Regions from separate parts of the Homo sapiens genome. Here region 2 is linked to region 1. Evidence: promoter capture Hi-C in 16 types of primary human blood cells and fetal thymus (Javierre and others, 2016). All regions are on one chromosome and are shown on one strand. Each heading gives the region's core, a stretch centred on a gene start or on the middle of the fragment in contact. The rest is flanking DNA. Distances are from core to core; before and after follow the strand shown.

Evidence for each region. Contacts are between HindIII fragments. The CHiCAGO score rates a contact against its expected background, and 5 or more counts as called.
Region 2: a fragment that was not itself captured here is called in contact with the fragment with the promoter of MX2 in region 1 in 4 of 17 cell types (neutrophils, naive CD8 T cells, activated CD4 T cells and 1 more); the score reaches 7.0 in neutrophils.

Annotation. Positions count from the first base shown.
Region 1 is chr21:41,359,932-41,364,661 of GRCh38, reverse strand. It overlaps MX2 (MX dynamin like GTPase 2), which reads right to left and starts at 2,635. Exons shown (of 14, transcript NM_002463.2): 1 at 2,607-2,635. RefSeq lists a silencer at 52-101 and enhancers at 2,091-2,930, 2,951-3,210, 4,493-4,730. The HindIII fragment of the contact is 29,601 bases long and covers 1-4,730 here.
Region 2 is chr21:41,405,672-41,410,401 of GRCh38, reverse strand. MX2 (MX dynamin like GTPase 2) reads right to left here. Exons shown (of 14, transcript NM_002463.2): 13 at 3,404-3,658; 14 at 1,009-2,411. The coding sequence ends at 2,169. Among named protein-coding and RNA genes, the nearest start is that of MX1, 18 kb to the left of the region's middle. The HindIII fragment of the contact is 4,554 bases long and covers 531-4,730 here.

The DNA.
Region 1 (4,730 bases), core at 1,386-3,885:
TATATATGTATATATTTATTTTTTTATATTCCATTAGTTCTGTCCCTCTAGAGAACTCTGACTAATACAGGGAGCCTAGTTCAACCCATAACAGGTACGTAGTGACTGAAAGTAGTACAGCAAGAAAATCAGCCCAGGCCCCACCTCCTGCAGCGCTGCCCCGCCCCATCCCTGTCCCTGTCCACGCTTGAGGAGCCGGTGCCTGTCCCCGATGCCCAGGATGTGCTTAGTCCATCTTCCACCAGGGTCCTCAGGAGCCTGAGAGTGTGGTGAAAAGGGCAGCCTGGTCACTGTATTGATTTCTATTGAGGGCTGGAAAAAAACTCCAAAAGTGCAAAGGGGAGGGAGTTTCCCTACATATGCTTAAAGCCATAACTTGGCAATTCCAGAGACCTTTGCAAAGAGAAATCCCTCTTTCCAGGCGCATCACTGGAGAGGAAGGCCCTGCGGGGTGAAGGCCCAGGAAGCTGGTGGTTACCCAGCTTAGGCAGCACTGAGGTGAGGGAGTCCAGGCAGAGGTGGTCAGAAGTCATGGTGAATTCATGACTGACACTCCCTGATGCCCCCGACGAAGGCAGAAGCCTCTGGCTCCAGAATGCTTTTGGGTCTATCATCCCCCCAAATTCTCAAGAGAGCCTGTCCTGCAGATGAGGAAACTGGGCCATGGGGAGATGCTGGAGGCCTTGTGGGGGCCCCAGCCCAGGGCTGGGAATCGGGTCTCCACTGCTGTCTCTGACCTGCACCTGACACTGCATCCCAGGGTGTTGAGATTGGAGGACAAGCACACACATTCCCTGCTGAGTTTGGAAGTTTGACTGAGACTGCCAGGATCACGTAAGCACCCCTGGGAAGGATGGAAATGGCTGTGCCGGACATGGTGGTTCCCGCTGAAGTCTAAGGCAAGCTGCGTCTCCCACACGGGCATAGCCACTATTGCTGGCTTGCAACCAGTCCGAGAGCTCTGCCGGGTCCTGGGCACCAGGGGCCACTCTGCTGTGTCCCTTTGCTCCAGTCCCAATGTCACTCGCATGGTGCAGGGTCATGGCTGACCAAGCACTGGCACTGAATGCGACCTTATCTCCCCGGGCTCACCTCCTTTCTTTTTAAGACCGCTTGTTTTTCACCCACTCAAAGATATATATTGAGCACTAAGTCCTTGAGATACATATCGAGTCAGGCAGACAAAGATCTCTGGGGGAGCTTGCATTCTAGGGCAGGGGCTAAACCTAAATAAAGCTCACATACATCCTGGCCAGACGCAGGGACTCACACCTGTAATCCCAATGCATTGGGAGGCCGAGGCAGGAGGATCACTTGAGCCCGGAAGTTTAAGGCTGCAGTGAGCTATGATGGTACCATTGCACTCCAGCCTGGGAAACAGAGCAGGAAGACCCTGTCTCAAAAAAGAAAAAGAAAAAAAAATTGTACATCCGAAGGGAGTCAAAAGTGCTTCAGGGGTTGGCGCGGGGCTGGGAAGTAGAGCAGAGTAAACGGAGGAGAGGGTGCGAGGAAAGATAGCTTGGAATCCTGATCTTTTTAAACAGCTAGAGACAACATTCTAAACACAAAATGAGAAAGAACAGTGTTCAAAAGGTGTCATCAAAGCCGAATGGGGTGGCTTACGCCTGTAATCCCAGTGCTTTGGGAGGTTGAGGCGTAAGGACTTCTTGAGCCAGTGAGTTTGAGACCAGCCTGGGCAACATAGAGAGCCCCTGTCTCTACAAAAAGAAATAAAATTAACCAGGTGTGGTGGTGCACACCTGTAGTCCCAGCTACTTGGGAGGCTGAGGTGGGAGGATCCCTTGAGCCCGGGAGCTTGAGACTGCAGTGAGCCATGATCACGCCACTGCACTCCAGCCTGGGGAACAGAACGAGAACTTCTCTCAAAAAAAAAAAAAAAAAAAAAAAAAAGAAAAAAAAACTGCGTCATCAATACCACCATGTCTCCTTTCCGCTCTATATCAATTATAAAATGGACTTCAGCCCCCAGAGTGCAGGCGATCCAGGGTGCAGTGGTCCAGAGTGCTGGAGTTGGCCCCTACTGGCTGGGAACTGGCCACGGTGGGAGCATTCACACCATGAGAACGGAAGAGAATCGGCAAAGGCTAGAAATCAGGCACCACCCTCTGCCCTGCCCCGCCCCATGAGAGCCAATTTCCCAGCATATCACCGTCACTAAGGTTACGTCAGAGCATCACAAATACCACAAAAGAAGGAACACTTGAAACCCTCCGAGACGACTTTTCGGGCACAAAGCTCCTTACTCAACCCCCAGACTTTGTAGGACGCTGAGCAAAGCTGTCCTAAAAACCACCCCTTTGCGTCCACCCGACTTTTGGCCAGATCAGGATGGAGGCCACCCTGTCCCCAGGGCCAGCCACTTCCCCTCCAGAGCCTCTTTGTCTGTGCACAAGGCTACTGTGGGCTGGTGGCAACATGGGCCCTTTCTGCTCCTCACACCAGAATCTTATCTTTGTGGCTCCTGCCTCCCAGCACAAGCCACATTCACCAAGCAGATGTCACGTTACTCAGGAAATATTTTTTAAACACGCATCTGCTGTGCATCAGACACAAAGCAGCCCTCCCTGCACCGGCCCCGCTCTTACCGCTGCACGTTCAGGATGGAGAAATCATCTCTTCCCTTTCCTCCACTTCACTTTTATGTGGCATATGAACCACTCCCTCCCCTGCTCCGTCATCAACAAACAGGGAGAGAAATGAAACTACTTGATCTGGCCACAGAAATGAAACTGAGTTATCAGCGTGCTCTCCAGATGACTCACAGAGTGGTCCCCAAACTCCAGCTGCATCCGAATCCTGGGAGAGCTGTGGAGACGGGGCGGCTGTCCCCCCACCCCCGCCAGAGAGTCTGATCTGTCAGGTCTGGGCTGGGCCTGAGAATCAGCATTGCTAACAGATTCCAGGGGAGGCTGGCATGGGGGCAGCTCAGAGTGGCTCAGTCACTGGAAGGTTCTGCCCTGACAGTGCCATCCAGTACCACCTGTGTGGCTCTGAAATGTGACTACTGCGACCAAGGAACTGGACTTCGAACTCCATGTAATTTGAATGAATAGCCACGTGTGGTTCGTGTATCGGGCCTCACAGATGCACTCCTGTTACAGCCGAGGACATGCTCTCAGGTACATGATCTGGACGCTCTGAGCTGTCCTGCTTAGCTTCATGCCTGAGCCGCACCTGACAAATGTCACCTCTCCCCTCATTAGGTGCGGAAAACCCAAAGAAGGAGGGTCAACAGCTTTCTCCAAGCACCCGTGCCTGAGGTCCCCGCCGCAAAACCAAGACGGTTTTCTTCCCATTGGAGATAAGGAGGCCCCAGGACAAACCCCAGGCTCCGGAACTCAGCCCTGAGCCAGCTGCATGTCATCTTTCTGGTCCTCAGTTACTTTTCACCTGCAAAAGTGAAGGTGCACAACCGCATGCTCCCTAAGGCTTCCTGCTCTGTGACCAAAGTCAAGGAGGGCCAGGCATTCCCATCACCAGAGCCAAGAGGTCTGGGAACCTCCAGGAGGAGCCCTCCAGACACCGGGGAGGGGACCAAGCCTCTCAAGGACTGGCAGTGATGGCTGGGAGGGAGGAAGCAGGCTCTCAGCTCTCCTATCCACCCGTGATCCTCTCCCAGACATCAACACTATACGTTTAAAAAAACTCCTGAGCTCCTCTTGGCTAAGTCATTGTAGTGACTTCCCTTGAGTGCAGGCTTAACTTTACGGAAGATATTTAGAAACTTAACATGTTTTTCAAAACCTTGGCATTAGAAATATTAACACCAGGAGATCATCGTCAGGATCACCTATCCCTGAACCACTTCTCTTCCCAAGAGCCCGGGCGGACAGAGGCTGAGGAGTGAGGGGAGGAATGTGAATCTCAGACTTGGCAGCGTGATGTGACATTCGGTTTCACTAGGAATGTCTTTCACAACAGGGCCTGGGCCGGCCTACTGCTTCAAGGAAGGCACAAAGAAAGGCCTCAGAGAAGCCGGACAGAGGGACACGAGCAGCTCGGGCCAGCTCAGGGGACCCTCCACCCTCTGTCAAGGCAGCATCCCCCTCCTGCACGCCCCTCACCAGCAGCCCTGGGAAGGACCAGAGGTGCCTGCGCATGCAAACTTCAAGGACAGGGTTCTTGCGTTCTGAGCACTAAAGCCCTGAGGGTGAATGAATGTCCCACGCAGCATCCAAGCACAGGGGCCGGGGCCAGAAAAGATGCTGCTGCTCAGGCCTCGGTCACAGCCGCTGGGCGGAGCTCTTCCCTCAGCTCCACATCAGGGAGCGTTACAGTGTGCAGCTTGGTAAAGAGGCGAAGTCCAGAAGCCCCAGTGCCCGCCTCCTGCCCTGGCACGCTGACTCTATGGAAAGCGCCAGCGCCTCTGTGTGCTGATGAAGTTCCTGGCCACCTGGAAGCACCTGCAGCACCTGGAGCCATCCAGAGCCAGCATGCATCCACTCTCCCATGGCCTCTCCAATCACAGAAGGAAAGATCAAGCAAATGCTTTCCTGAATTAACAGGACAAAGGCAATGGTGAAGTGCTGTAGACAAGCAGGGTTCTTACCTGGGGTGTGTCCCTCCCAGCAGAGCACAGGAGCAGCGGGTGCACCTTGGAGTGGAACTCCACCCTGTCATTGTCCGTGTGACCTGGCTCTTTGTTTCTTTTTTGTTTGCTTGAGATGGAGTCTCGCTCTGTTGCCCAGGCTGGAGTACAGTGGTGAGAT
Region 2 (4,730 bases), core at 1,558-4,057, 46 kb before region 1:
CTTTTGGAAATCAGTGCTAATGAAACCCAAGTGTTCCTTATGGAAATGTAGTTTGAAGAGTGAGGCTCCCTTGGACCTCCCAGCCTTGTCTAGCTTCTGTGTGACTGTGACGCATGGGTGAGCCCAGGTGAGACACACAGAGGAACAACACAGACTTCCCACAGAATCCAGAGAAAGAATACATCTGCTGTTTTAAGCCATTAAGTTTTGGGGTGATTGTTACACAACAATAGATAACTGGAACATATTCCCAAATTCCACGTTTGGAGGATTGCAAGCAATCGATCAATGTCAGCCTTTCCATGATCATCTGGTTTGCTTCAGGCCAGATCTGCTGCCTTTTGAATTAGAGATACCTTTTTCCAAGTTTTTGGTCATTGCTCGAGTTTTGTGTTCAGAATGCACATGTCTATTTTCTTACTTGCTGTAATGGAACAAATTATGCCCCCACCCTCAAATTCATATGCTGATGCCTTAACTCCCAATGTGACTGCATTTGGAGGTAGGGTCTTTAAAGAGGTGATCAAGCTTAAATGAAGCCCTAAGGGTGGGGACCTGATTCAAGAGGACTGGGATCCTTGTAAGAGAAAAGAGAGAGGCCAAGCATAGGCCTGGTGAGAAGGTGGCAGTCTGCAAGCCAAGGAGAGAAACCTCAGGAGAAACCAAACTAGCAACACTTTGATCTCAGACACTTCCAGCCTCTGGAGGTGGGAGGAAATAAATTTCTGTAGCTTAAGCCACCCAGCATGTGATATTTGTTATGGCAGCTATAGCAGACTAATACACTAGCATTTGAACACAAATCAAAGAGACCTCTGCAAGAGAGCTCTTGGGGATGCTGGTCAAGCTGTGATTTTTGACTTGAACTTTCTTTTCCAACATCTTTTACAGCAAATGAAGAAAGAAATTCACGTAATCTTTCTCGTCTGTACCCCTGAACAAAGCTGAATGTTTTTGAGGCACTCTTTCCATCTCAAACTTGGGTTTTAAAACAAATCAGCAATGATATTTATTCTATTGCCTTTTTATTAAGGAATCTATATGTTCATCATTTGAAACATACAGGAAAACATGAAGAAGAAAAGAAAATTACCCATAATGATGATCACTGGTGTGAAGTTCTCTCTCTCTCTCTCTGTGTATGTGTGTGTGTGTGTGTGTGTGTATTCAGAGACAGAGTCTCACTCTCACTCTGTCACCCAGGCTGTAGTACATGGTGCAGTCATGGCTCACTGCAGCCTCAAAATCCTGGGCTCAAGGGATCCTCCTGCTCCAGCCACCTGAGTGGCTGGGACTACAGGTGTGCACCACCATGTCTGGCTACTTACAAACAAATTTTTTTAGAGACAGGGTCTCCCTGTGTTGCCCAGTCTGGTCTTGAACTCCTGGGCTCAAGTGATCCTTCTGCTTCAGTCTCCAGAGTCACTGGGATTACAGGTATGAGTCACTGAACCTGGCTACGTTTTTAAAAAGTTTCTTTGCTTTATTAAATTCCTCTTCAAGACTTAACAGAACAATGGAAGCTCATCATAATCAGGGAAACAAGAAGAAAAGAGAATCACTCAGGCTCCTTTCTGGCGGGGGAGTGGAGAGGCTGGGAAACACAATGACAGTGAACCATGGGAAGCAGGGGGCATGGCCACTGGATCTGAAAGGGACCGGCTAACAGTCACTAAATGTCCAAGGCCTGGGCTTGAGCAATAGCCTCAGGTATCTCCATCACTTACACAGCACTCATTCGTTCAGTGAGATGTCATTTATTAAGCAGTTACAATGCTGCAGGTGCTGTGCAGGAGACTGGACATACAAAAGAAGAATTTGACCCAGACCTTCCCCCTCTGGGGTCTCATAATCTTGTAGGGGGAAGGGAATACAAATACAAATTAGCGAAGAATGATAGCAGTATCTTAGGACACTGTAACTGTGTGCTACGGGACCCAAGGACTGGAGAGCCATCCCTTCGTGAAGGTCAGGGAAGAGCTGGGTGGTGGAGAGAGCTGAGCCTGTGTGGACCCCTGATGCATGCTCTGATGCTGAGGGAGTACAGTAGAGATGGACACTGATAGTGACAGAAGAGTTTGGCCCCAAAGCAGAAGCGGCATCCTGCACCGACTCCCCTTAGAATGAATGAGTACGCACAAGAAAACAACCACAGGCATCGCCGCCCTTCAGTGGATCTCTTTGCTGGAGAATTGACAGAGTGCGTGTCGCGCCTGAGTGAGCCGGTAAATTCTCTCCTTAAGGATTCTTCTCTTGGTAGCGGTCTCACTCTGCTCTTGAAGCAGCCAGGAATAGCGATTTTTTTCCTGTAGTATCTGCATCATGGCTTTCTGCAAGGAGTCACCATTCTCTCGGAGCATAAAATACTGAATTATAAATGGGATCTGGTTGGCGAGACGTTTGCTGGTTTCCTGGAAGAGGGAGAAAGAAGGGTTTGCTGGAGTGGTCTCAGCCCAAGGCCTGTGGTTGCAGAGAGAAGGCATGGAGTTCCTGGATGCGCACATGGTTGCCTGGCGAAGCCCTGGTGGTCTCGCCCACCTCCACTCCGGTGGTCAGCATCAAGCCCCGTGAAGGTTCTATTTGCGCTGACCCCTCTTTACTTCCAGGCATCCCCTCTAGCACTAAGAAGCCCCCTGGTAGGCTAGCAAGCCCATATCACCTCTGGGCATCCCCACAGCTCCTCCCTGCTGGAGAAACTCCCCCAGCCCAGGACTCCCCTGGCTCCCTTCTGGGTATGCACCAGGGCCGTTTCGAATCCTCCCCTCATTCCTTCTTCATAGGCATAGCCAGTATGCCTGGCAGCCAGGTGCCCATGGCTGGGAAACCACTCTATTCTGATTGAGAAAGGGCTTCGGGAGGTGGGTGTCTTTGCAGTTTAAAAGCTATTTTTTCTTCCTGGGAACAGTGATACTTGCATATTGGATAGACAGTCAGAGGCCAAAAAGTTCACTGGGTCACAAAATCTAGGGAAAGGAAATTTCATTCCTATCTTGTGGGGCTGGCAAGTGTGGCATGTTAGTGCCTTCTGAACACCAAGGAAAGCTAGTTTATAGTCACAATCGTTGACGTTTGTTGTATTTTGCTGTATTCTGATCATAGTAATTTTGTAATTCATGGACCGCATAAGAAATATAAGGAATTTTGGGGTCAGAATTAATTTTGAGTACACGCTCTACCACTTTAAAAATTGATTGTGGGCAAATTAATTAAAAGTGCCTTCATAGGGTTCATGTAAAATTATAAATGAGAAAATATATAAGTAGTTTATCATAATACAGAAGGGCTTAATACATTGTAGTGGTCCCTCCCTCCTTCCCTCAGCAAAGCCTCTCTAGGTTAGCATAGCCCCTACTCAGCTCTGCAAATTTCAGAGAGCACGGCTCCTGCCCCGCCGGGAACTCACCAAGAAGTAGGCATTCAGGTGGATGCCTATTTCAGTAAAGGAGGAAACCGAAGACTCATTACTGGGAAAATGAGAGTTCAACTTCATATTCTGTGAAGGCGTCCCCAGAGGGTTAAAAATCTCTTCTCGGACTTTCTTCAGAACAACACTGTAAATCTGATCTTGACAAAAAACCATCTGCTCCATTCTGAACTGAAGTTGGATCATGTTTTCTGCCTTTGCTGTGTGTTTCACTTTTATGTCTTCAATCGTGCTCTGGTTAGATAAAAAAGACAAACACATTACTTCTTTTTCTTCTTTCCTGTTGGCTTAAACAAATTTGGAAGTACTATTATGTTGAACTCAGAAATAAAACGAATCCATAGTCAAAGAAGTCCTGAGACTTGAAATGATGATTTTTAGAAAGTCCCACTTCGCCCTTTCTGTCCTTATGAACCCGGTTTCCTCACTCCCCACTTGCGACATACCTTCTCTCCTGCCCTTTCTTCCTCTCTGGCCATCCCCAGTCCCTCCTACACCACCAGCTTTCTGCTCCTTCAACAGGAACAGGCTTAGTCCATGCTGTTGGGACGGTGTCAGTCATTCCTGGGGTGCTACTTCTGCTAGAATGGTTCCAGTGCTGACGAACACTGGGATAATAGTGTGATATACCTGTTTCCCAGGAATCCCAGGACTCCTACATCACCCATGCAGTCAAGGAAGAAAGAGGTTGGCTGGGCATGGTGGCTCATGCCTATAATCCCAGCACTTTGGGAGGCCAAGGAGGGTGGATCACTTGAGGTCAGGAGCTCGAGACCAACCTGGCCAACATCGTGAAACCTCATCTCTACTAAAAATACAAAATTAGCTGGGCGTGGTGGCACACGCCTGCAATCCCAGCTACTTGGGAGGCTGAGGCAGGAGAATGGCTTGAACCTGGGAGGCAGAGGTTGCAGTGAGCTATCATGCCATTGCACTCCAGTCTGGACGACAAGAGCGAAACTCCGTCTCAAAAAGGCCGGGTGCGATGGCTCATTCCTGTAATCCCAGCACTTTGGGAGGCTGAGGCAGGTGGGTCACCTGAGGTCAGGAGTTTGAGACCAGCTTGGCCAACATGACGAACCCCCATCTCACTAAAAATACACAAATTAGCCAGGTGTGGTGGCAGGTGCTTGTAATCCCAGCTACTTGGGAGGCTGAGGCAGGAGAATCACTTGAACCTAGGAGGCAGATGTTGCAGTGAGCCGAGATGGCGCCATTGCACTTCAGCCTGGGTGACAGAGTGAGACTCCATCTCAAAAAAAAAAAAAAAAAAAAAGGAAAGAAAGAGGTGATGTAGCAGAGAAGG